Regions from separate parts of the Homo sapiens genome. Here all the other regions are linked to region 1. The links are contacts of gene promoters, found by promoter capture Hi-C in blood cells and fetal thymus (Javierre and others, 2016). All regions are on one chromosome and are shown on one strand. The core of a region is centred on a gene start or on the middle of the fragment in contact, and the rest is flanking DNA. Distances in the headings are between cores, read along the strand shown.

Region 1 (3,707 bases), core at 313-2,812:
ACCTCTACTAAAAATACAAAAATTAGCCGGGCATGGTGGTGGGCGCCTGTAATCCCAGCTACTCGAGAGGCTGAGGTGGGAGAATCACTTGAAGCCGGGAGGTGGAGGTTGCAGCGAGCTGAGATGGCGCCACTGCACTCCAGCCTGAGCGACATAACGAGACGCTGTTTCAAGTAAAAAAAAAAAAAAAAAAAAAAAAACAAAAGAGTTCGAGATCCTACCACAAAAGGTACAAACGAAGGGTGGTGGGAACTCGAATGAGATAGCAGTGTTCACCAGTGCCCAGTAAAGGAAGACTTCACAGAGGGAGCAGGATTTCAGATGGGATTTGAGGAAAAGGGTTTAAGGACTATTAATGACTTATCACTGATTACTCTTAGGGTTTTCAAGCTAAATTTCAGAGTCCTTGTCATGGAATTCAGGCCCTCCACAACTAGGTCAAAGGGAACGCCAAGGAAGAAACATTATCCTGAGTGAGATGCTTATGCTGAAGTCTTTGCTATCAGTTCAGGTTCCAAGGGATCAGAAAACCTTACTTTTCTGTCTCCATAAACCGTAAATGGGTTGAAGGCAGGCACTTTTGTAACACTCCTCTCCCCGGACCAGGCCTCTGTACATCATAGCACTTGGTAGATGCACAGCATACTTTCTGAGCGAAACTAAAACGAATGTAAATCAAGTCACCTGGTGGCCAGACTTGCCTTACACCATCTAAACCTCTGGTGTTAGCTAATTTTAAAGCTATCAAGTAAGAGGCTTAAACACGTGGTCCAGATGCAACATGTGGACCTTGGTTTGGACCCGGATGCCACAAACCAATTGTAAAAGGACATGAGATCATCTGAAAAACCTAAATATGGACTGGGAATTAGATTAAGGAATTGTTAATTTCATTAGATGAGATTACATCGTTATGCCTTTAAAAGTTGTCTCTTAGATATTAAATATATACACTTAGGGTATTTATGAATGAAACGGTTTCCCTTAAAACACTAGAAATGTATGGTGGAGCCAATGAAACAGGTAAAAGGTAGCTAACTGCACTATGGGGAGTAATATACTGCTTCTGCTAAATGTTTCAGAATTCTCATAATATAAAACACAACATACACACACACGCGCCCCCCAGTTTTTTTCATCGTAAGCCCCGAGGGAGCCAGACCCAGAGGGTCCACCGACGTCCCGGATTCTAATAACGACATCTGCGCGCCAGGCGGGCCTCCTGCGGGAGCCGGGGCCCATTTTCTTTCGAAGCTAACGAAGCTGCTGCGCAGGCCTGTTAATTCCCTCAGCAGCCAGTGCGAGGTTAAACACGCGACCTCGCAACCATGGCTTTTGAGAGGAAGCTGAATTCCTGGGGTGCGCCGTGCACAGTTCTTCATTTCCTACGTTGGCCCTGCCCAGCCGCCTGGACCTGGAGGAAAACAGAGAACCTGGCCCACTCTTCAATACTTCGACCCCAGTGGCCGCGCCTCGGGCGCTCGGGGGCGGGCTCTGCACAGCGACGTCACGGCGCACCGTGCGCTGGGTCAAAGTTCAGCCCCGCCCCCGCTTCCCCCTCGCTGTCTCCCTCGGCCTGTGCCGCCGCCGACGCCGCTTGTGGGCCCGACTCCGCTCTGTCTGCTTCGCCACCTTCTCCCCGAGCACTGCCCGGCCGGCCGCCATGGCTAACGTGGCTGACACGAAGCTGTACGACATCCTGGGCGTCCCGCCCGGCGCCAGCGAGAACGAGCTGAAGAAGGTATCTGGGAGCGGGCCGGGCGGGTGTGAGGGGCGCGGGGCCTGCGCGGCCAGGGATGTCTTCTTCAGCCAGGCCGCGCTACTGGGCTGCCCGCGAGCCGGCGCCGGCCGTGACTGGCCCGGGCTGGGAGTCGGCGGCGGCGGCGGGACCGGCCTCGCCGCGAGCCGCGCACTCCGGCCTCGGCTGACCTTGGGGCCGCCGGCCCCGCCCGCCCGCAGATGCAGCAAATAAAACTCACTCCTGCGCAAACACGATGGGAGCCCTTCCTTCCTCCCTCCTTGAACGAGCGCCGGGGGCTGGTATCCCCCGGGAGGCAGCAGCTCGCCCGGTCCTTCGCGTCGAGGTCACCACCCCGGAAAAACAGGTTGGACCGAGGTGCTCAGCGCATCCCGGCCCCGAGAGAGAAGCTGTCCGCCCCGCGGCCGTCGGCCCCGGGTCTGGTGCTCCGCGGGGAGGAACGGCGGGGAGGTCGAGGCCGCCCCCACAGAGCGCCTCGGGCGGATGGGGTTGTTTCCTGGGTTCCGCGGCCGCCGGCTGCGGGAGCTCCTCCCTCTCTGCGTCCCTCGCCCATTGACCCGGAGGTAGCTGGGTCTGTGTTTGGATGCATTGTTCTTTGGGCAGGTAATGCTAATGTCCTGTACCTGCTTAGGAATAAGCCGTGGTCCCAGCCAAACGCCTGAGTGTACAGTAAACATAAATAGAAGGCCTTATTATTGCTATTTGCAATGCTGCGATATCTTTCATCTCAGGATTTCAAAGCACACGAGGCATTTAAGCCCCACAGCATCCTCACCAGGCTAAGAGCATCCAGATTTGTAAGCCGAGAAAAATGAGAATGCTCCTTAGGCAGTGAGAAGAGTACAGTGGACTTCCTGTTACCTTACCGGAAATGCTAGTCTGTATTATATAATTCACGAGCCTCCGTGAATGAAGATTTAAGTGCTTTAGGACCCAAACACCTCGTTGAGAGTGTGTGCAACTTCTCTACCACCGAAGTTGCCACCACGACCCCAGTTAACCACCACGTGCAAATAAAACACCAAAAGACGCTAACTAGGACCACCTTTACTTTTTCATGATGTTACAGTTAGAAGGAAGGCGTGAGCCATCGGGAGCAGGAATTGTGACTTTAGCTTGATTTATAGTAATGTTTTGCAGTCCGCAAAGCTTAACAGTCATTTATCTCGAATTTATTAGGGTCGTCTTGGTCTGGTTACTTGGCCATCAAAGACACTTGACAATAGGGAAAATATGGATAATGTTTGAACGTTTTGTTTTTCCCTGTGGCATTGCTTCATTGTTTTATCTGGTTTTCACGTCACTGTAACCTGTTTTCAAGTATAGCTGCTGTCTACTTGGTTATATTACATTAGTAAACAGTATCGCGAGAAAGTGCCGAAGAATCCCTACGAATAGAAAATATTTTTGAAAGGTTATAACTCTAGAACATTACTTCTCAGAAAAGTGGATATTAAGTTATTACAAAACTTTTAACTGGTGTTTAGTTATAACCTTTTTTGTTTTTATCCATTTTCAAAGGCATACAGAAAGTTAGCCAAGGAATATCATCCTGATAAGAATCCAAATGCAGGAGACAAAGTAAGTTATTTGCACCTTTTTTATTCCGGGGGTTTTAGCTTTAACTTAAATTGCCCTCCTTGAAAAAGAGGAATGTTGCAGGAAAAAAATCCAACTATGCCCACACAGCCACATTTTCATAATGTCAAGAGTATTTTAGTTTTAGAATAAGAGTACTACCATTCTGAGGAGCGGTGGGTGGTAAATAGAACCAGAATCAAGTCAAAGGTAACTTGTCCCTTTTTTTTTTTTTTTAGAATTAAATGGATTCTGGATTCCTGTAGCTTCTCCCCACTCTTCTACTTGAAAATGCAATTATTTTTATTTTTACCTTTTCTTTATAGTTTAAAGAAATAAGTTTTGCATATGAAGTACTATCAAATCCTGA
Region 2 (3,707 bases), core at 756-3,255, 1.3 Mb before region 1:
AAATTAGCCAGACCTGGTGGCAGGCACCTGTAGTCCCAGCTACTTGGGAGGCTGAGGCGGGAGAATGGTGTGAACCTGGGAGGCGGAGCTTGCAGTGAGCCAAGATCCCGCCACTGCACTCCAGCCTGGGCAACATGGTGAGACTCCGTCTCAAAAAAAAAAAAAAAAAGATTACAAATCAGCTACTATAAATATGCTTAAAAAACTAATGCCCCAACATTGATGAACTTTGAGGAAACTAAGTGAAGTCAGTCAATTATAAAAAGATAAGTACCGTATGATGCACTTATATGAGGTATATAGAGTAGTCACTCATAGAAACAGAAAAGAGAATGGTAGCTGCCAGGGACTGAGGGAGGGAGAAAGAAACAGGGAATTGCTGTGTAATGAGTATACACCTTCACTTTAACAAGATGAAAAAGTTCTGGAGATTGGCTGCACAACAATGCGAATGTGCTTAACATTACTGAACTGTACACATAAAAGTGGTAAAAATGGGACTTTTTCTGTTATATTTACTAACATTTAAAAAAACTAAAGGAAATCATGTCTAAAGAATTACAGGAAAGTATGAGAATGATGTCTTGACAAATAGAGAATATAAACAAAGATAAATAATAAAAATTTTAAAATAGAAATTTTGGAGTTGAAAACTACAGTAATTTGAATGAAAAATTCACTAGAGGGGCTGAATGACAATTTCAGCTGGCAGAAGAAAGAATCAATGAACTTGAAGACAGGTCAACTGAGATGATCCTGTCTGAAGAATAGAAAGAAAAAAGGCTTTAAAAAAAGTGAACAGCACTTTAGAGACCTACGGGACTCCACAAAGATTACCAACACACCATAATACGAGTTTCAGAAGGAGAGGAAAAAGAAAGGGGCATAAAGAATATTTGAAGAAATACTGGCCACATACTTCTCAAATTTGATGAAAAACATTTACCTACACATCCAAGAAGCTCAAAAAGAACTAAGTAAACTCAGAGGATCACACATAAACACAGTCAATCTGTCAGAAATGAAAGACAAAGAGAGAATACTGAAAACTATGAGAGAAAAATGCTGCCCTCATTAGGCATAAGAGATCCGCCACAAGCTTAACAGCTGGCTTCACAGCAGAAACCACAGAGACCAGAAAGTGGTGAGAGGACATGCGAAAGGGCTGAAAGCAAACAATTGTCAACCCAAATTCTATACCAACAAAATTACTTCAAAAATGAAGGAGAAATTAAGACATTCCCAGAAAAACAAAAACTGAGAATATGTCACCAGGAGATGAGACAAGAAATATGAAAGACTGAAGTTTAAGGACACTAGACAGTATCCACACAAAGAAATAGAGCGCACTGGCAGAAGTGATTACATTGCAAACATAAAAGGCAGTGTAAATATATTGTTGACGTAACTTTTTCTTATCTGATTTAAAAGATAATGGCATAAAGCAGTAATTACAGTTGATCCTTATTATTCCATATTTGCAAATTTGCCTATGTGCTAAAATTTGCAACCCCTCCTCAATACAGGTATACCTCAGAGACACTGTGGGTTCAGTTCCAGACCACTGCAATAAAGCAAATTTTGCAACAGAGTGAGTCACATGTATGTTTTTTTTTGTTTCCCAGTGCATATAAAAGTTATGTTTACACAATATACTATAGTCTATTAAGTGTGCAATAGCATTATGTCTAAAAAACAATGTACATGCCTTAATTAACAAATACTTTCTTGCTATAAAATGCTAATCACCTGAGTCTTCAGTGTTAGTTGTTGTCATTTTGCTGGTGGAGTGTCTTGTCTCAATATTAATGGTTGATGACTGATCAGGTGGTGGCTGCTGAAAGTTAGGGTGGCTGTGGCGATTTCTTAAAATAAGGCAACAGTAAAATTTGCTTCATCTATTGACTCTTCCTTTCATGAAACAATTTCTTATAGCCTGCATTGCTATTCGATAGCATTTTGCCCACCGTAGAATTTCTTTCAAAATTGAAGTCAATCCTTTCAAACCCTGTTGCTGCCTTTATCAACTATGTTTATGTAATATTCTAAATCTTGTTTAGAATTTCAACAAGGTTCACAACATCAAGGTTGTCATTTCAACAAGGTTCATAGCATCCTCACCAGGACTAGATTCCATTTCAAGAAACCCGCTTTCTTTGCTCATCTGTAAGAAGCAACTCCTCATCTGTTCAAGTTTTACCATGAGATTGCAGTATTTCAGTCACATCTTTGGGTTCTAATTCTAGTTCTCTTGCTATTTCTACCACAACTGCGGTAACTTCCTCCACTGAAGTCTGAACCCCTCAAAGTCATCCATGAGGGCTGGAATCAACTCTTCCTGAACTCCTGTTCATGTTGATATTTTGACCTCCTCCCGTGAATCATGAATGTTCTTAATGGCATCTAGAATGGTGAATCTTTTCTAGGGGTTTTCAATGTACTTCGCCCTGATGCATGGGACGAATCATAATCTATGGGAGCAATAGCCTTAAAAAATGTGTTTCTTAAATAATAAGACTTGAAAGTTAAAATAACTCCTTGATCCATGGGCTGCAGAATGGATGTTGTTTTATAAGGAATGAAAACAGTATTAATCTCCTTGTACATCTCCATCACAGCTCTTGGGTGACCAGAAGCATTGACAACGAGCAGTAATATTTTCAAAAGAATCTATTTTTTTTGAACGGTAAGTTTCAACAGTGGGCTTAAAGTACTTAGTAAAACCATGCTATAAACAGATGCATTGTCACCTAGGCTTTGTTGTTCCATTTACAGAACAAAGGCAGAGTAGATTTTGCATCATTCTTAAGGGCCTTAGGGTTTTCAGAATGGTCAATGAGCACTGGCTTCATCTTAAAGTCACCAGCTGCATTAGCCCCTAACAAGAGTTAGCCTGCCCTTTGAAGCTTTGAAGCCAGGTACTGACTTCTCTAGCCATGAAAGTCCTAAATGACACTTCTTCCAATACAAAATAAGGCTGTTTCATCTACATAGAAAATCTGTTTTTTAGTGTAGCCACCTTTATCAATGATGTTAGCTAGATGTTCTGGATAGATAACATGATGCAGCTTCTACAATACATCAGTACTTGCTGCTTCCCTTTGCACTTTATGTTGTAGAAATGGCTTCTTGCCTTAAATCTCATGAACCAACTTCTGTTAGCTTCAAATTTTTCTTCTGCAGCTTTCTCACCTCTCTCAGCTTTCATAGAACTGAAGAGCCTTAGGGCCTTGCTCTGGACTAGGTTTCGGCTTAAGGGAATGTTGTAGTTGGCTTAATCTTTTATCCAGACCACTAAAACTTTCTTCATATCAGCAATAAGGCCATTTCACTTTCTTATCATTGGTGTGTTCACTGGAATAGCATTTCTAATTTCCTTTGAGAATTTTTCCTCTGAACTCACAACTTGGCTATCTGGCACAAGAGGCCTAGCTTTCAACATGCCTTCCTCACTAAGCTTAATTATTTTTAGCTTTCGATTTACAATGAGATGTGTGACTCTTCCTTTCACTTCAACACTTAGAAGCCACTGCAGGGTTATTACTTGGCCTAATTTCAATATTGCTGTGTCTCAGGGAATAGGAGCCAGAGGAGAGGGAGAGAGAAAGGGGAATGCCTGGCCAGTTGAGCAGTTAGTACATACTCAACATTTATTGATTAAGTTTGCTGTCTTATATGGGTGCAGTTTGTGGTGCCCCAAAACAATC
Region 3 (3,707 bases), core at 557-3,056, 1.3 Mb before region 1:
AATGTAAATTGGTACAGCGTGTTGCGGGAAGTCAGGGACCCCAAACGGAGGGACCGGCTGAAGCCATGGCAGAAGAACGTGGATTGTGAAGATTTTATGGACATTTATTAGTTCCCCAAATTAATACTTTTGTAATTTCTTATGCCTGTCTTTACTGCAATCTCTAAACATAAATCGTAAAGATTTCATGGACACTTATCACTTCCTCAATCAATACTCTTGTGATTTCCTATGCCTGTCTTTACTTTAATCTCTTAATCCTGTCAGCCAAGGAGGATGTATGTGGCCTCAGGACTATGTGATAATTGCGTTAACTGCACAAATTGTACAGCATGTGTGTTTGTGCAATATGAAATCTGAGCACCGTGGAAAAAGAACAGGATAACAGCAATTGTTCAGGGAATAAGAGAGATAACCTTAAACTCTGACCGCTGGTGAGCCGGGCAGAACAGAGCCATATTTCTCTTCTTTCAAAAGCAAATGGAAGAAATATCGCTGAATTCTTTTTTCTCAGCATGGAATGTCCCTGAGAAACAGAATGCGCACCTAGGGGTAGGTCTCTGAACTGGCCCCCCCGGGGCGTACCTGTCTCTTATGGTCGAGATTGCAGAGGTGAGATAGACTCCAGTCTCCCATAGCGCTCCCAGGCTTATTAGGAAGAGGAAATTCCCATCTAATAAATTTTGGTCAGATCCGTTATCTCAAAACCCCGTCTCCTGATAAGATGTTATCAGTGACAATGGTGCCCGAAACTTCATTAGCAATTTTAATTTCGCCTCGGAGCTGTGGTCCTGTGATCTCGCCCTGCCTCCATTTGCCTTGTGATATTCTATTACCCTGTTAAGTACTTGATGTCTGTCACCCACACCTATTCGCACACTCCCTCCCCTTTTGAAAATCCCTAATAAAAACTTGCTGGTTTTTGTGGCTTGTGGGGCATCACGGATCCTACCAACGTGTGATGTCTCCCCCAGACACCCAGCTTTAAAATTTCTCTCTTTTGTACTCTGTCTCTTTATTTCTCAAGCCAGCCAATGCTTAGGAAAATAGAAAAGAACCTACATGATTATTGGGGCAGGTCCCCCGATAACAGCCATTATGAAAACAGTATGGAAGTTACTAAAAAAGTTCAAATACAACTTACATATGATCCAGCAATGCCACCTCTGGGTAAACAGCCAAAGGAACTGAAATCAGGATCTCAAAGAGTTATCTGCACTTCCGTATTCACTGCAGTATTACTTACAATAGCCAAGATACGGAAATAACTGAAATGTCTACTGACACATAAGTGAATAAAGAAAATGTGGTATAGACACACAATGGAATATTATGCACCTTAAAAAAGAAGGAAATCTTGCCATCTGTGACAACATGGATGGACCTCTAGGTTAGAGGGCATCATGCTAAGTGAAATAAGCCAGACACAGAAAGACAAGTACTGTATGATTTCACCTATTTAATGCATGTGGAATCTAAAATAGTGAAACTCATAGAAATGGAGAGTAGACTAGTAGTTGCCACAGGATGAGAGGAGAAGGAAATGGGAGGTGATGGTTAAAGGGAACAAAGTTTCACTTATGCAAGATAAATAAGTTCTAGAGATCTACTATAAAGAAAAGTGCCTATCGCTAACAATATTGTTAATTTAACATTAGACCTTATGTTCAATGTTCTTACCACCAGCACCAAAAGAAAAAAGCCAATAATAATGATGATAATAATAATCACAAAAGAGGTAGGAGGAAACTTTGGAGGTGACGGATATGTTTATGGCTATGAAGATTGTGATGGTTTCATGGGTGTATACTTATTCTGAAACTCACTGAGATGTATTCATTAATTATATACAGCTTTTTGTACGACAATCACACTTCAATAAAATGGTTTCAAAAAAATTGAAAACAAAAATAATTTAACAGTACGACAATCAGTGGAGTAAATTTGAAATGAAAAATTGCATGAGCTTTCTGAGTGACAATTAGACTGCAAAACAGGTGTTATTTTTTGGCTTACCAGTTGTACTTTTGTTCCAAGGAAGTTCTACCATAAGTTCCAAATAATTTCTAGTCAGAGCATATTCTGGCATTGACTGAGGCATTTTTTTGAGTCTGTGGAGAAAGAATACACAGCAAACATGTTCAAGAACACAGAAAAATTCCATAACAGAAAAATCAAACACAGCTCTCTTTCTTGGTTAGATATATCATGCATGTTTAAACAAATCTGAAAAAGTTTTAAAGTATCCAGATAATAAAACGTTTATTTTGTTTTGTAATGTAATGATCACCACTCCTATCTCTCTCCCCAGCCTACTTAACTGCCCCTTCTGGAGTCCCACCAGGGAGGGGTTCTTCCCTTCTGCTCTGCTTTCTCTACAAAGTATTCTCATATTTTCTAAGTACTTAAGGTACTTACAAAACAAAATAAGGCAGATACCTGCAAACTGCAGGAGAAAACATTATATCTAATTCTAACCTGGAAATATGGCCTTACTAGTGTGTGTCCCTTTTAAGCTCACAGGGATAGTCAAGTGACATATATCCATTGGTTTACTTATCACAATAAGATGTAAGTGCCTAACTATGCATAATACAATACATTTTTTTTTGTATCAGAGATGAGTGAGGTCTGCTCATAAAAGCAAGCTAATATCATATATTTAATAACAAATGCTACTTCCATAATATATGCAATGCTTAGCAAAGTGTTCTGCACATAATAAATGTTCTACATATATTAACTAATGTCAGAGGCAATATAAAATACCCATCAACTACAATTACTAATGTTCTTAACTGTAAGCCTCAGAAAGTCAAATATTAAGTCACTAAGCATTCAAGCAGGCTCACTACAATTCACTAATAAAAGAAAATGTAATAAGAGTTATAAAGTTAAAAGTATGCAAAGGAAAAATGGCTTTCAGTTTAACACTGGGGATATCCAGAAAATGTAATCAACCCATATATCCTATTCTGTTATCAAGGTTTCCCTGTACTTTGTCTTGTACAAAGAGAAATGGACAGTCCTTGCCCTTGAGAGTTTATAATCTAGAGAAGAAAAGTCACATGTGAAGAATATGATGCTAACTGAACAAACATTACGTATAAACAAAGAAGCATGGTCTGTTCTTTCAGACAACAAAAAGGCAGCTGCAAGAGTTATATTGCCTGACAGCACACTGCAGGTGGAAGATTTGTATTATGTATCCTCAGTATTGGAGAAAAGAGTAGTGAAAGTGGTGTTAATCAGGAGTACCAAGAATGAAAACAATAATGAACAAATGCCTTTTATAATTTACCTCTTTATCTCTTTGACACAGACTTTATGGGCCTGCTCTGGCATACTAGATGTTCGTATTTTTTTCTCTAGCATGACAATGTCATCATTATCTTCATCTTCATCTTCATCTTCTAAAGTACCTGAGATATGTGTAATTCTCCTAATAGGGCGTATTGCTATAACCTAACATAGAAAGCAGAAAAGTAAAACCGTATGTCAAAATAAATTGGAAACGAAGTACCCAGGTACACATAAGATTATGACTGGTGCTGAATAAATATTTTTATGACTACAGTCTCTATCTTTAGGAAGTGAAGTTCAGAATGATAATCAAAAGGCAGTTGTATACAGAGAGGCAGCAGAATTGCAGAAGTAGACCAACGTAAGGTAGACATGATTCTTTGGTATATGCTTACAATAATACT
Region 4 (3,707 bases), core at 895-3,394, 1.3 Mb before region 1:
AAAGAAAATGAAGTCTAATAATGACCACTCTTGCCTAGACAGGGAACTAAGTGTGCCTGGGCACAGAAGGCAAAATAATTTGGGAAAAGTAAGCAGAAGGAGCAGAGTCGTATGTTGGGAAACTAGAATCCAATACAATTTATCAAAGAGTACTGAAACTTGGAATGTGACCAATTCCACTCAGGCAATAACCAAAGCAGGTCAGATGGGAGCCAAAATATTTTCCATGCTTGAGAAAATCAAGGCTTTTACAATATAAATGAATACTGGGCTGCTGTGGAAGGTTTGTTGGTCTTTGTTGCTTTGTTTTGCTTTCTTTTAACGGGGGTGGGGGGAGGTACCAGTCTCCTTTGAGAATCTGAAGAAAGCAAAGGATTCTCCTAAAAAAATGTACATAGTCACAAGATTTTGAGGAAAAATAAGACATGTCCAACCCTCCGGAAATCCATTCAGAGTCAGGAACCCCTAATTTAAAAATAAGGGATAACTGCCAGGAAAGGAGAAGCTCTAAACTGAAAACACAACACCTCCAGTAGAGTTAGGAATAGGAGGCGGGTGCTTGGCAGGTGAGTTTGAAGATACTTGTTGAGAGCATACGATATACCAGCATTGTCCAATAAAAATATAATGTGGACCACATATAAAATTTTAGTGGCCACATTATAAAGTAAAAACAGCAGAAATCTTAACATTTTATTAACCCCAAGTACTCAAAATATTACCTTTCCAACATTTAATCCATATAAAATGTATTAATCAAAAAGTTTTTTCAAAATCTGGCGTGTATTGTACACTTACAGCACATTTAGGGTGACCAACCTCCTGGTTTCCCTGGGACGGAGGGGCTAAAACATAGGACTTTCAATGCTAAAACAGACAATCGCAGCAAACCAGGACAACTGGCAATTCTATCATCTCAATTTGACGAGCCACATGCACTACACAGTACTGGACAGCAAAGTCATCCATCATGCATGGTGCAAAGTGGAATATACACATTATTCAATTTATTCTTCATAACTTGCCTAAGAGATGGATGCTGTCAGTTTCCAAATTGCAGAATAAAAGAAATAGAGGTTAAAGCTCTCACCCAAAGTCACACCAATAGGGCGAGGGTACTGGGCAATATAGTAGTAAGCCTGGGGCCTAAGAAATGTTATGAGTGAAGGAGCAGAGGTGAGAAGCTAGGAAAGTTCCAGAAAGGGGGACCAGCGAAAATGTGAGCAGTAAAGGCCCTTTACAAAGGGAAACAGAAGGATTAGGGGGAGAAGGAGAAGGGTGGCAGGGAGTATAGAAGAAAGGCACCCACAAATAGTGCAGTTTAGGAATGAAACAGGAAAAGTTAAAACTCACGGAGCAGAGAATGCCTCAGCGGACAAAAATGATGGGTGACAGAAAAGGGGAGGCGGATAGGAGTAAAGGGCAGTGGGGAGAAAGGTGAAAAGCGAAGGCAAGTGAAGGCAGAGATCACCGGGGAGAAAGAAAGGGCCTGGAAAGTTAAAAGCACTGGCCTAGGAGGCTGAAGACCGAGGGCGAGGAATTGCGGAGAGGGGGAAGAGGATTCAAATTAAATTATCCAGAACGGTAGGGAACTGCGTAGTTTCACCAGGTGTCAGGCACTACTTCATGAACGATCTCATTCATGGTCATGGGGCAGGTATCTGACATCCCCATTTTGCAAGTGATAGCACCAGAGAGGCGGAACCGAGCCGCGAAGGCCGCCCCGAACTGAGCCTCGCGCTCAAGGCAGGCCGTGGCCTGGGCCCAGGTCCCCGGAGGAGGCCGCGCCGCCCGCCGCCGCCGCGGGGGCAGCCAGGCCTACCTGTGCAGCGGCGGCAGGTCCTGCGCGTCGCTGGCGGGGTCAGGCGTGTTGGGGATGACGCCCAGGATGGTGCTTTGCAGCGACGTGCCCTTCAGAAGGCGGCTCCGCACCAGCTGCAGGTTGCGGGCCGAGTCCACGCTGGTGCGCATGGTGGAGCCGGGCAGCAGGACGCCCTCGTGGGTGAGCAGCAGCGGGAGGCGACTGGGGATCTGGATGGGGCTCACTGATGACATGCTGGCAGCCTTTCGCACTGGGGGCTGTCAAAAAGAGCCAGACAGACAGCTGCCCCCGGCCTGCCCCGCAGTCACCAAACCTCAGACCCGCCTCCACGCCTCCGCTTCCGGCTACGCGCTACGGTCCGTCCCCGGGCCCAAAAGCCATGGCTTCGCGCTGCTCTCTAGGAGAGCCTCCCGGTAAGACTTGAGCGTCCTACCTATGCGGAAAGACGTGCACTCAAGCGTGCAGCGACCTTCGCCTCACTTACAGAGTATATTTGGAAGGATGATCTTATTTGAATTGTATATACTTGAAGTGTTTTTAACGTTTTCTTCGATTTTTTACATATACTTGAAGTGTTTTTAACTTTTGATTCGAACTAATTATTTATTTATTTATTTATTTATTTATTCTGAGACAGATTCTCGCTCTGTCGCGGAGGCTGGAGTGCAATGGCGCGATACCCACGGCTTGCAGCCTCTGCCTCCCGGGTTCAAGCGATTCTCCTGCCTCAGCCTCCCGAGTAGCTGGGATTACAGATGCCCGCCACCACACCCAGCTAATTGTTGTATTTTTAGTAGGGAGGGGATTTCACCATGTTGGCCAGGCTGGTCTTTAACTCCTGACCTCAAGCGATCCGTCCACCTCGGCCTCCCAAAGTGCTGGGATTACAGGCGTGAGCCAACGTGCCCGGCCCGAATTGATTTTAGATGTACAAAACTACAGCAGAGTTCCTATATACCTTTCACCCAGTTTCGTCTGTTATCATCTTACATAATCATAGTTCAATGATCAAAACCAGGAAATTAACATTATTATCGTTTAACCTATAGGCCTTACCCAAATTTTGCCAGTTTTCCCACTAATGTCCTTCATTGGATCTGGTCCAGGATCCAATATCCAGGATCCTGTTGTGAAATCTCCTAGGTGTTTTGTTATGAAATCTCCTAGGTGTTCTCTAATCTGTGGCAAGTCCTCAATTTTTTTTTTTTTTTTTTTTTTTTGAGACGGAGTCTCGCTCTGTCACCCAGGCTGGAGTGTAGTGGCGAGATCTCGGCTCACTGCAAGCTCCGCCTCCCGGGTTCATGCCATTCTCCTGCTTCAGCCTCCCGAGTAGCTGGGGACTACAGGCACCCGCAACCACGCCCGGCTAATTTTTTGTATTTTTAGTAGAGACGGGGTTTCGCCATGTTAGCCAGGATGGTCTCAATCTCCTGACCTCGTGATCTGCCCGCCTTGGCCTCCCAAAAGTGCTGGGATTACAGGCCTGAGCCACTGCGCCCGTCCAATTTTTTTTTTTTTTACAACCTTGATACTTTTATTTTTTTTCTGTTTTTAATTTAATTTTATTTTTTATTATAGTTTAAGTTCTAGGGTACATGTGCACAACGTACAGGTTTGTTACATATGTATACATGTGCCATGTTGGTTTGCTGCACTCACTAACTCGTCATTTACATTAGGTATATCTCCTAATGGTATCCCTTCCCCCCCACTCCCCACCACCCAACGACAGGCCCCTGAGTGTGATGTTCCCCACCCTGTGTCCAAGTGTTCTCATTGTTCAGTTGCCACCTATGAGTGAGAACTTGCAGTGTTTTGTTTTCGGTCTTTGCGATAGTTTGCTCAGAATGATGGTTTCCAGCATCATCCATGTCCCTACAAAGGA
Region 5 (3,707 bases), core at 557-3,056, 1.2 Mb before region 1:
AGATGCATCTTCCTCACCCACAGTGGAGCTGACGTCCACTCCTGTGTCCCCTCCACAACCCTGCCATGCCCCGCACCTGCAAGGTGTGCTCAGAGTCCTTGAAGGGGTGACCCTTTTGCCCTTTGATTCCTCTGAGTGATCATGACAATTCTGATTGCTTTAGCTCAAGTATTTAATAAAACATTCTGGAAATAAAATTGAAGGGATTTTAGAGGCAGAAAAAGCAAGGAGGCTTTAAATCTGCTCCTCCAACCCTCACTACCCCACCAGCTAGAAAGCAAACATACATGAGAGCTACGCTTGGTCAGCAGTATCCATGCATTTGCGATGAGAGCAGCTACAGAGAACACTTCATGGCTCAAATAATTACATTTAGTAACCGTCAAAATGTCCTTCCCTCCTCTTTCTTTGAGTTTGGCTTTAATAAATGCCATTGGCTTCTATTCATTTCTACTTCTTGCATTATAGCTTGAGAAGTACATGGGGAAATGTAGGTGGTCATTTGGTCAGTGCCATGAACCTTTAAGAAATTGCCTTCTGTGAAGAGTGACTGTGCCAGGCTTGGGGAAGCCTCAGAAGGCCTAATTGGATCATGGTTTTGCCATTAACCACTTGCGTAATGAGTAAGTTACAGAGCCACTTCCTCTTCTGCAATCTTCAGTTTCCTCATCTGCAAAACAAGGACACCAAACTAAATGCTTTTGTTAGAGCCTACCTTGTGGTTTGACATGTCCTTTGATCTCCGAAAGGCCTCATGGCCACTGGCTGTTAGAGATCAACTTGCAGGTGCCACCCTCAAGAAGGGGGCAGTTAAGGCTAAATTTGATCCAAGGGTCCAAATCGTGTGCAACCCAGTAGGATTGCTGCTCCTAATCTTTGGCAGTCCTGAGTGAAAATGGTCCCATCTGTAGAAAATAATAAGAGCTGGTATTGGTAGAATGCCCTACTGGGGGTGATGGAGGGCAGGTAAACCCCAGACTGGGGCTTAGTCCATGAGGGTTCTTGGCTTTGCCCAGGAAAGAATTCAAGGGCAAGCCAGTGGTAGGGTAGAAGAAAACAGCTTTACTGAAGTGTCACTGTTGCAGTTCTGGCAGTGTTGCAGCTCTGTGACTGACCCTGCAGAGCAGGGCTACCCCGTAGGCAGTGTGCTGAGAGCTGCAGCTCAGGGCAGGTTTGCAGTCATATTTATACCTACTTTTAATTACATGTAGATTAAGGGACAGTTTATACAGAAGTTTCTAGGAAAAGGGTGGCAACTTCCAAGTCATCAAGTCATTGATGACCCAGAAAGAGGCGGTAACTCCTGGGTGTTGCCATGGGAATGGTAAACTGACACGACACACTGGTGGGCCTGTCTTATGGAAAGTGGCTTCCACCCCACCCCTGTTTTAGCTAGTCCTCAATTTGGTCTGGCGTTCAAACCCTGCCTCCAGAGTCAAGTCTCACCTCCTACCTCAGGGGCAGGCACTGCTCTGAGCATTTTTAATGTATTCTCTCTCTCTCTAATAGCTTTACAGGATATAATTCATATACCATACATTCAGCCTTTTAATTATACACTTCAGTGTTTAGTATATTTGAGGAGTTGTGTGATCCTCACTACAACTCTGTGAAGCATCGTTTTCATTCCCATTTCGCTAACGAGGACCTTGAGACTCAGAGGAACTCAGTACTTGCCCGAGGTCAGACAGCAGTAGGTGGAGGAGTCAGGTAGCCGTGGAGCCCATCCATGCTTTTAAATCATTGCTCTACATTGCCTGCCCTGGAGACCCCTGGGATCCGTGGCTCTTTAGAGTCAAGGGTAACAGGCATCTTCATCCAATCTTGAGCAGGGCCTGCAGCTTCTCTCATGGTCTGCGTTGATTTTGTCCCTGCAGGTTTTCCGCTGCCCCATGAGTTTCTTTGACACCATCCCAATAGGCCGGCTTTTGAACTGCTTCGCAGGGGACTTGGAACAGCTGGACCAGCTCTTGCCCATCTTTTCAGAGCAGTTCCTGGTCCTGTCCTTAATGGTGATCGCCGTCCTGTTGATTGTCAGTGTGCTGTCTCCATATATCCTGTTAATGGGAGCCATAATCATGGTTATTTGCTTCATTTATTATATGTGAGTAGGTTCTTTTTGCTTGTGACTTGGGGAGCAAGGCTGGGACCAACCCAGACTAGATGGTCCCAGAGGTGGACGGTCCAGGTCCCTTACCTCCACTGTCCATGCAGGATGTTCAAGAAGGCCATCGGTGTGTTCAAGAGACTGGAGAACTATAGCCGGTCTCCTTTATTCTCCCACATCCTCAATTCTCTGCAAGGCCTGAGCTCCATCCATGTCTATGGAAAAACTGAAGACTTCATCAGCCAGTGAGTCCTTCTGCTGCCATTTGAGAATGATGGAACCACAGGGGTGGTGGGGAGCAGGGAAAGAATGGAGCGTCTGGGAGTGGCATCATCTTCAAAAGCATCAGAGAGCACATTGTTCGATGGACGTATTTCTCTGAGCCTCCAGAACCTGCTGAACCATTCTTTCATTTATAAGAATGAAAAATGTAAATGATAGGAAAAATGTTTGTAAACTTTAAAGACCTTGTATATATTGTGTATATATATATGGACATATGTATACATACATTTAATGATAAGGTGCATTACTGTGCAAACACATCTTGCATTATGTTATTTCTTTCACTTCCAAACAAATATCTATCTTTAACAAAATAATGAGGAACAATAGCTTTCTAAATAATAGAACTTCCTTCACTACTCATGCCATAGATTTGCCCCCTAAATGTTGAAACAAACAAGCAAACAAGTCCTGTGATTGTTGTTGAGGTTTAATGGTGTAACACGAACTTATCTGTTTGTAGAGAATAATCAAGCACGGTCTTCACCTACAAGAAGTTCATAGTCTGGTGGAAAAAGGGAGAAACAGGCACATGTTTTTGTAATTATACGTGATTGAAGAAGGTAGATAGCATAAGAGAGGGGCAGATAAACTGCTTGGGAATTCAGAGGGGAAGGAGGTGGCCTGGGGGAATCAGATAAGGCTTTCGGGAGGAGGTGGCATCTGAGCTGGCCTTGAAGCCTGGGTAAGACTTGGGCACACATTTGGGAGACGGTATGTGCTCAGTTAGCTGGAATATTGGATTAATTGTGGCACCTGCTCTCTCAGTGGCATTATAGACCACTCAAGGTCTGTGCAGACTCTAGGACTGAGGGGATCCTGGAGCGGTGCATTCATTCAGCCCACACTGAGAACCCTGCCCCAAGGTATATACTAAGATAAGCAGATGAAGAGAGTCTGGAGGGATTGGAGCTGTTGTTGGGGAAGGTGTCAGAGAAAAGGACCCTGAGATGAAGTGTGGGTTGAGCTATGGAAATATGTGGGTAGGAGCTCTCCAGGCAGAGGGGACAGTAAATGCAAAGACCATGAGATGGGGGAAGTAGGTTTGAAGGATAGCAAGGTGGCTTGAGCACAGGGGCCACAGAGTGACCAGGGTCTGTTGTGTTTAATCTGGGAAGGCCTCAAGGTGGAGGTGACTCAATCAGTATAGAAAGGTAAGGTGGACAGAATTTGGAATGTCTTATGCAAAGGTTCAGAGGGTATGGACAGAGTGAGTCAGAAGGGCCACTCTGCTGGGGTGATAGCCCACTCAGATGGTAAGATGGTTTTAGTTGATGAGTAAATGAATATTTAATTTCAATAATCAAAGGTTTAT
Region 6 (3,707 bases), core at 355-2,854, 1.2 Mb before region 1:
CCTACTTGATGGTTGAGGAGCCTAAGGCACAAGAGGGTTAAATAGCTTGCCCAAGGTCACATAGCTAGCAAGTGGCAGAGGAGGGTTTCATACCCAGGGCACCTGGCTGCAGAGTCTGGGCTCTTAACCACCGGCAAAAACTCCTCTTGTAAAAAGCAAACTGAGATAACAAGCAACCCAGCCAAGGGCTAAGCCAGCCAAGCCAGCCAGAGTCTGTTTGTTGTTCTCTCCCCTCAAGATTGGGGGATGGAGATTTCAGGCAACGCTGTGGGTTTAGGGAATGTTTGGCCTCTTCCTGCATCTCCTGCATGCATCTCCTTCTTGCTCTGGGAACTCAGCAGCAGACTCCCAGGGTGGCAGTGTTGATTTTGCTGCAGAGGGCTCAACATTAATCTTGTGCCTGGTATTTTAATCTCTCATCCTGTTGACTCACTCTTTCCCTGTGCAAGCGCTATAGAAGGAGAGGTTCTTATTTATTATGCAATGTCAAGCTCAATAGCTGGTGTGAGAGTGGTACCTCTCATAGCTAACAAAGCTGTCTGCCACGTATTCATTGGAAACGATATTTAGTTGGCTGAGTGCAATTGAGCTCAGATTTCAGCTAAGTCCCATGAGTGCCACCTACTTTGCCTTCTCGCCACTCTCCCCGTGGAGCACCTGACTTCCCCCCGCCCTGCCTTCCCATGTGCCTCCAAGAGGCCTCCGTGAACTTCCCGTGTTCTAAGGACGCTGCTTTCTGGCCACGCAATGGCTTTGCTAATGTGCTATTCCATATGTCGGTGACTCTGGAATTCCTGCCTCAAGGATGCAGTCAATGTTTTGTGGAATAAATTGAAGATAAAGTGGGGGCAATGCATTGTTGCCTCTGGAGCAGTGGGGGCAATGCAATGCCTCTGGAGCCTGAGGGACCCCAGTTCCAGGCCCAGCCACTTCCTAGCTGCTTGACCTTGGATGTCTTGCTGAAGCTCCCTAAGCCTCTGTTTCTTTACCAGCACCATGCATTTCATAGAAGTACCCATTTCACAAGGTGGTGGGGGAACTCAGATACCACATAAAAATGCTAAGCCCATAGTAAGTCTTAGCTGATGTTAGGTATGATTGTTGCCTTTTTCTTTAACAATTATGTCCAGCTTAAGTGCTGCCCTCAAGTGTTCTACAGGGCATCCAGGTTTTTCCAAGTTTAGCTCCTCAATTCCATCAGACTGGATCCTCCATGGGGTCAGGGTTTTTTGTTCACAGTTATGTCGTTATCCCGAAGCCCAGCTCCTGGCTTGGAGGTGGCCAGCAGTGTTTGTTGGGAGAATCATCAGAGGATACAGGCCTCATGGATTTTCTGCTAAAGACAAGGATGAATCTAGAAGGCTTCTTACTTGGCCCCAAGAAGTGGATAGGACTCAAAGGGCAGCCAAATACCTGGTGAGGCTGCATCACATCTGCGGTCTCTTTAATGCCCCGGTTCATTGAAGTCCTTTTAGGGGAATTAAATAGATTCAGCTTCATTTCATGAGGCAGGAATTCCAGAGTCACTGACATATGGAATAGCCATTAGCAAAGTCATTGTGTGGCCAGAAAGTCCTTAGAACACAGGAAGTTCACGGAGGCCTCTTGGAGGCAAATGGGAATGCAGCATGGGGGAAGTCAGGTGCTCCACCGGGAGAGTGGCGAGAAGGCAAAGTAGGTGGCACTCAGTGGGACTTAACTGAAATCTGAACTCAGTTGCACTCAGCCAACCAAATTTACATCCATGTGGGCTCCACAAAGGCAGGGAGACCTCTGTGTGGATCACTATTTTATCCCAAGGTGCCTGGGATTCAGCAAAGACCTTGTTTAAGGAATTATTGATGACAGGCAGCGACTCTCATGTGCTGAGAATGGCAGACAGGGGATGGGCGTTTCTGGTCTAGCTTGGGGTGGGAAAAAAGCCATATTTGGCCCCATGTTGGGCATCTTTGCCCTAAGGGATTGCAGGGAGCAGGCCTACATGAGAATGTTCTCAGATGCTCCAAGTGCAGTATTGCAATATCTGCTTGAACATGAGTGGACATGCTTACACGTCAGTCTCCACATGGGCTGTTTGCCTGCAATGATTCTCCCCAGATACCCCATGGCACCCTTCCTCACCTCCTTCACGTCTTACCCAAATGTCACCTGTGGCAGATGTTGTCCCTGCCCATGTGCCCTGGACCTCTAAGTGTTTCCTGGCCATCTTACAACTGCCTTATCTGCATCCGTGCCCAAGGGCTCTGCACACCTCCATAAAGACCTTCACAGACTAGAGAGCAGCCCTCAAACAATGACTGCTGGGGCATCAATACCCCACCTCCTCTGCCATTGGGTGGGACAAAGCTATAGTCAGTTCCCCAGAGTTTCCTGCAGTTTCCCTGCAGGGTTGAGTTCCGTTTGCCTCCTGTGTAGGATATTCTGTTAGGGAGCCAACCCAATAGGCTGCCCTTTATGGGCCACCTTCCCTTTCCTGTATCACTTCTCCTCTTCCCTACTGGAATTTCCTGCACCTTCCAAATGTGAGTGTGACTTTCATTCAAATCCTTGATTCAAGGTCTGTTTCTGGGAAAACTCAAGCTAAGACATCTACCTTTCCAGTAAGGCTTTCCTTGTACCCCCAAGCCTCTAGCCCACTCCCTGTCCCTTCCCTGTCTCTTCCCTGCTTTATTTTTCTCCATGGCAAGCATAGATGTGCCTGCCCCACATTTCATTTGCTTGTCTTGCTTCCTGTCCATCTTCCCCTGACTACAAGGTAAGTTCTATGAGGGTAGACTCAGGCCATTGCCTGTTGTGTTCATTGCTGTTCTTGCTGGTGGTTGGAACAGTGCTTGGCACATAGCAGGCTCTGATAATGATTTGTTGGTTGAATTAATAAATCTGGAGCTGTAGAATGTTAGAATAGTGTAACTTCTCAGTAATTCCAGATTTTTGAAAAGCCCCTAGATGTCCATACTTCAAAAGCTACCCTAGTCCCCCTGGGTTGTACAGCCTTTTGCATCCCATTAGATTTGCTTTTCTGGAGTCTGGGCACAGAATAGCCTTCCTGTTCAAGGCCTGTGTCTCCCAGACCAGCACAAGGCTGTTTCACACCAGTGATCTTACGTGATTTCTAGAAGCCCTGTGGGTGCTTGGCTATGCCACACAAGGGAAAGCACTTAATTAAGACTTACATTCCTGCATCCTCCCAGGCTGTTTATGTGGGCCAGGGTGGTGTGGCTGCAGCTGCCATGCCCCAGAGCCTGCAGTGACCCCTTGTTCTCCGCCTGGCCTGACCAGCATAGTTTGGGAGTGGCACCTTTGGGCCAGACCCTCTAAGAAGTGGGAGAGAGTGACTGTGTCCCATCTCTGTTTCTCTGGCAGGGGAAGATCTTGGGAATATGTGGGAATGTGGGAAGTGGAAAGAGCTCCCTCCTTGCAGCTCTCCTAGGACAGGTAAGCTGTGTGATGAGTGCTGTGAAGATGGAACATTAACATGACAATGAAATGGCTCCCTTCCGGTCAGGCGTGGACCCAGCAGATGGCCTCGGCTGCACTGGACACTGTGCATGTGGTTCACAATAATTTTTGGGAGGTTAATGCACGCAGCAGCTCCAGGCCCCTGGGCCAGATGAGGCTGAGTTTTTCACAAACTCTTGAGTTTGCCAATGAGGAGGTCTATTGAATGGCATTGCCTCCTTGCCTAAAGCTCCATCTTGGTCAAAGGA

The links. The method cuts DNA at HindIII sites, captures the fragments that hold promoters and counts their contacts. A CHiCAGO score of 5 or more calls a contact.
Region 2: a contact is called between a fragment that was not itself captured here and the fragment with the promoter of DNAJA2 in region 1, in 1 of 17 cell types (total CD8 T cells). The highest score is 5.7, in total CD8 T cells.
Region 3: a fragment that was not itself captured here is called in contact with the fragment with the promoter of DNAJA2 in region 1 in 1 of 17 cell types (non-activated CD4 T cells); the score reaches 6.2 in non-activated CD4 T cells.
Region 4: a contact is called between the fragment with the promoter of LONP2 here and the fragment with the promoter of DNAJA2 in region 1, in 1 of 17 cell types (naive CD8 T cells). The highest score is 7.3, in naive CD8 T cells.
Region 5: a fragment that was not itself captured here is called in contact with the fragment with the promoter of DNAJA2 in region 1 in 6 of 17 cell types (M1 macrophages, monocytes, neutrophils and 3 more); the score reaches 13.0 in M1 macrophages.
Region 6: a contact is called between a fragment that was not itself captured here and the fragment with the promoter of DNAJA2 in region 1, in 1 of 17 cell types (endothelial precursors). The highest score is 6.5, in endothelial precursors.

The regions. Positions count from the first base shown.
Region 1 is chr16:46,971,529-46,975,235 of GRCh38, reverse strand. DNAJA2 (DnaJ heat shock protein family (Hsp40) member A2) reads left to right here and starts at 1,562. Exons shown (of 9, transcript NM_005880.4): 1 at 1,562-1,741; 2 at 3,281-3,340; 3 at 3,664-3,707. The coding sequence starts at 1,664. DNAJA2-DT (DNAJA2 divergent transcript) reads right to left here and starts at 1,464. Exons shown (of 2, transcript NR_186372.1): 1 at 1,111-1,464. RefSeq lists enhancers at 1,151-1,240, 1,301-1,370 and silencers at 1,801-1,850, 1,881-1,960, 2,111-2,160, 2,191-2,260, 2,611-2,690. The HindIII fragment of the contact is 5,496 bases long and covers 1-2,910 here.
Region 2 is chr16:48,282,605-48,286,311 of GRCh38, reverse strand. All of the region lies in intron 8 of LONP2 (lon peptidase 2, peroxisomal), which reads right to left. Among named protein-coding and RNA genes, the nearest start is that of ABCC11, 37 kb to the right of the region's middle. RefSeq lists an enhancer at 2,524-3,050. The HindIII fragment of the contact is 1,807 bases long and covers 1,102-2,908 here.
Region 3 is chr16:48,261,182-48,264,888 of GRCh38, reverse strand. LONP2 (lon peptidase 2, peroxisomal) reads right to left here. Exons shown (of 15, transcript NM_031490.5): 5 at 3,302-3,465; 6 at 2,017-2,111. Among named protein-coding and RNA genes, the nearest start is that of ABCC11, 15 kb to the right of the region's middle. The HindIII fragment of the contact is 4,245 bases long and covers 1-3,707 here.
Region 4 is chr16:48,242,737-48,246,443 of GRCh38, reverse strand. LONP2 (lon peptidase 2, peroxisomal) reads right to left here and starts at 2,144. Exons shown (of 15, transcript NM_031490.5): 1 at 1,823-2,144. The coding sequence starts at 2,055. The region is part of intron 1 of ABCC11 (ATP binding cassette subfamily C member 11); the gene reads left to right. RefSeq lists an enhancer at 2,119-2,208. The HindIII fragment of the contact is 24,694 bases long and covers 1-3,707 here.
Region 5 is chr16:48,185,598-48,189,304 of GRCh38, reverse strand. It overlaps ABCC11 (ATP binding cassette subfamily C member 11), which reads left to right. Exons shown (of 30, transcript NM_001370497.1): 21 at 1,878-2,104; 22 at 2,215-2,352. Among named protein-coding and RNA genes, the nearest start is that of ABCC12, 31 kb to the right of the region's middle. RefSeq lists a silencer at 573-867. The HindIII fragment of the contact is 4,577 bases long and covers 1-3,707 here.
Region 6 is chr16:48,123,941-48,127,647 of GRCh38, reverse strand. It overlaps ABCC12 (ATP binding cassette subfamily C member 12), which reads left to right. Exons shown (of 31, transcript NM_001393797.1): 12 at 3,364-3,435. Among named protein-coding and RNA genes, the nearest start is that of ABCC12, 30 kb to the left of the region's middle. RefSeq lists an enhancer at 3,468-3,707. The HindIII fragment of the contact is 4,858 bases long and covers 1-3,707 here.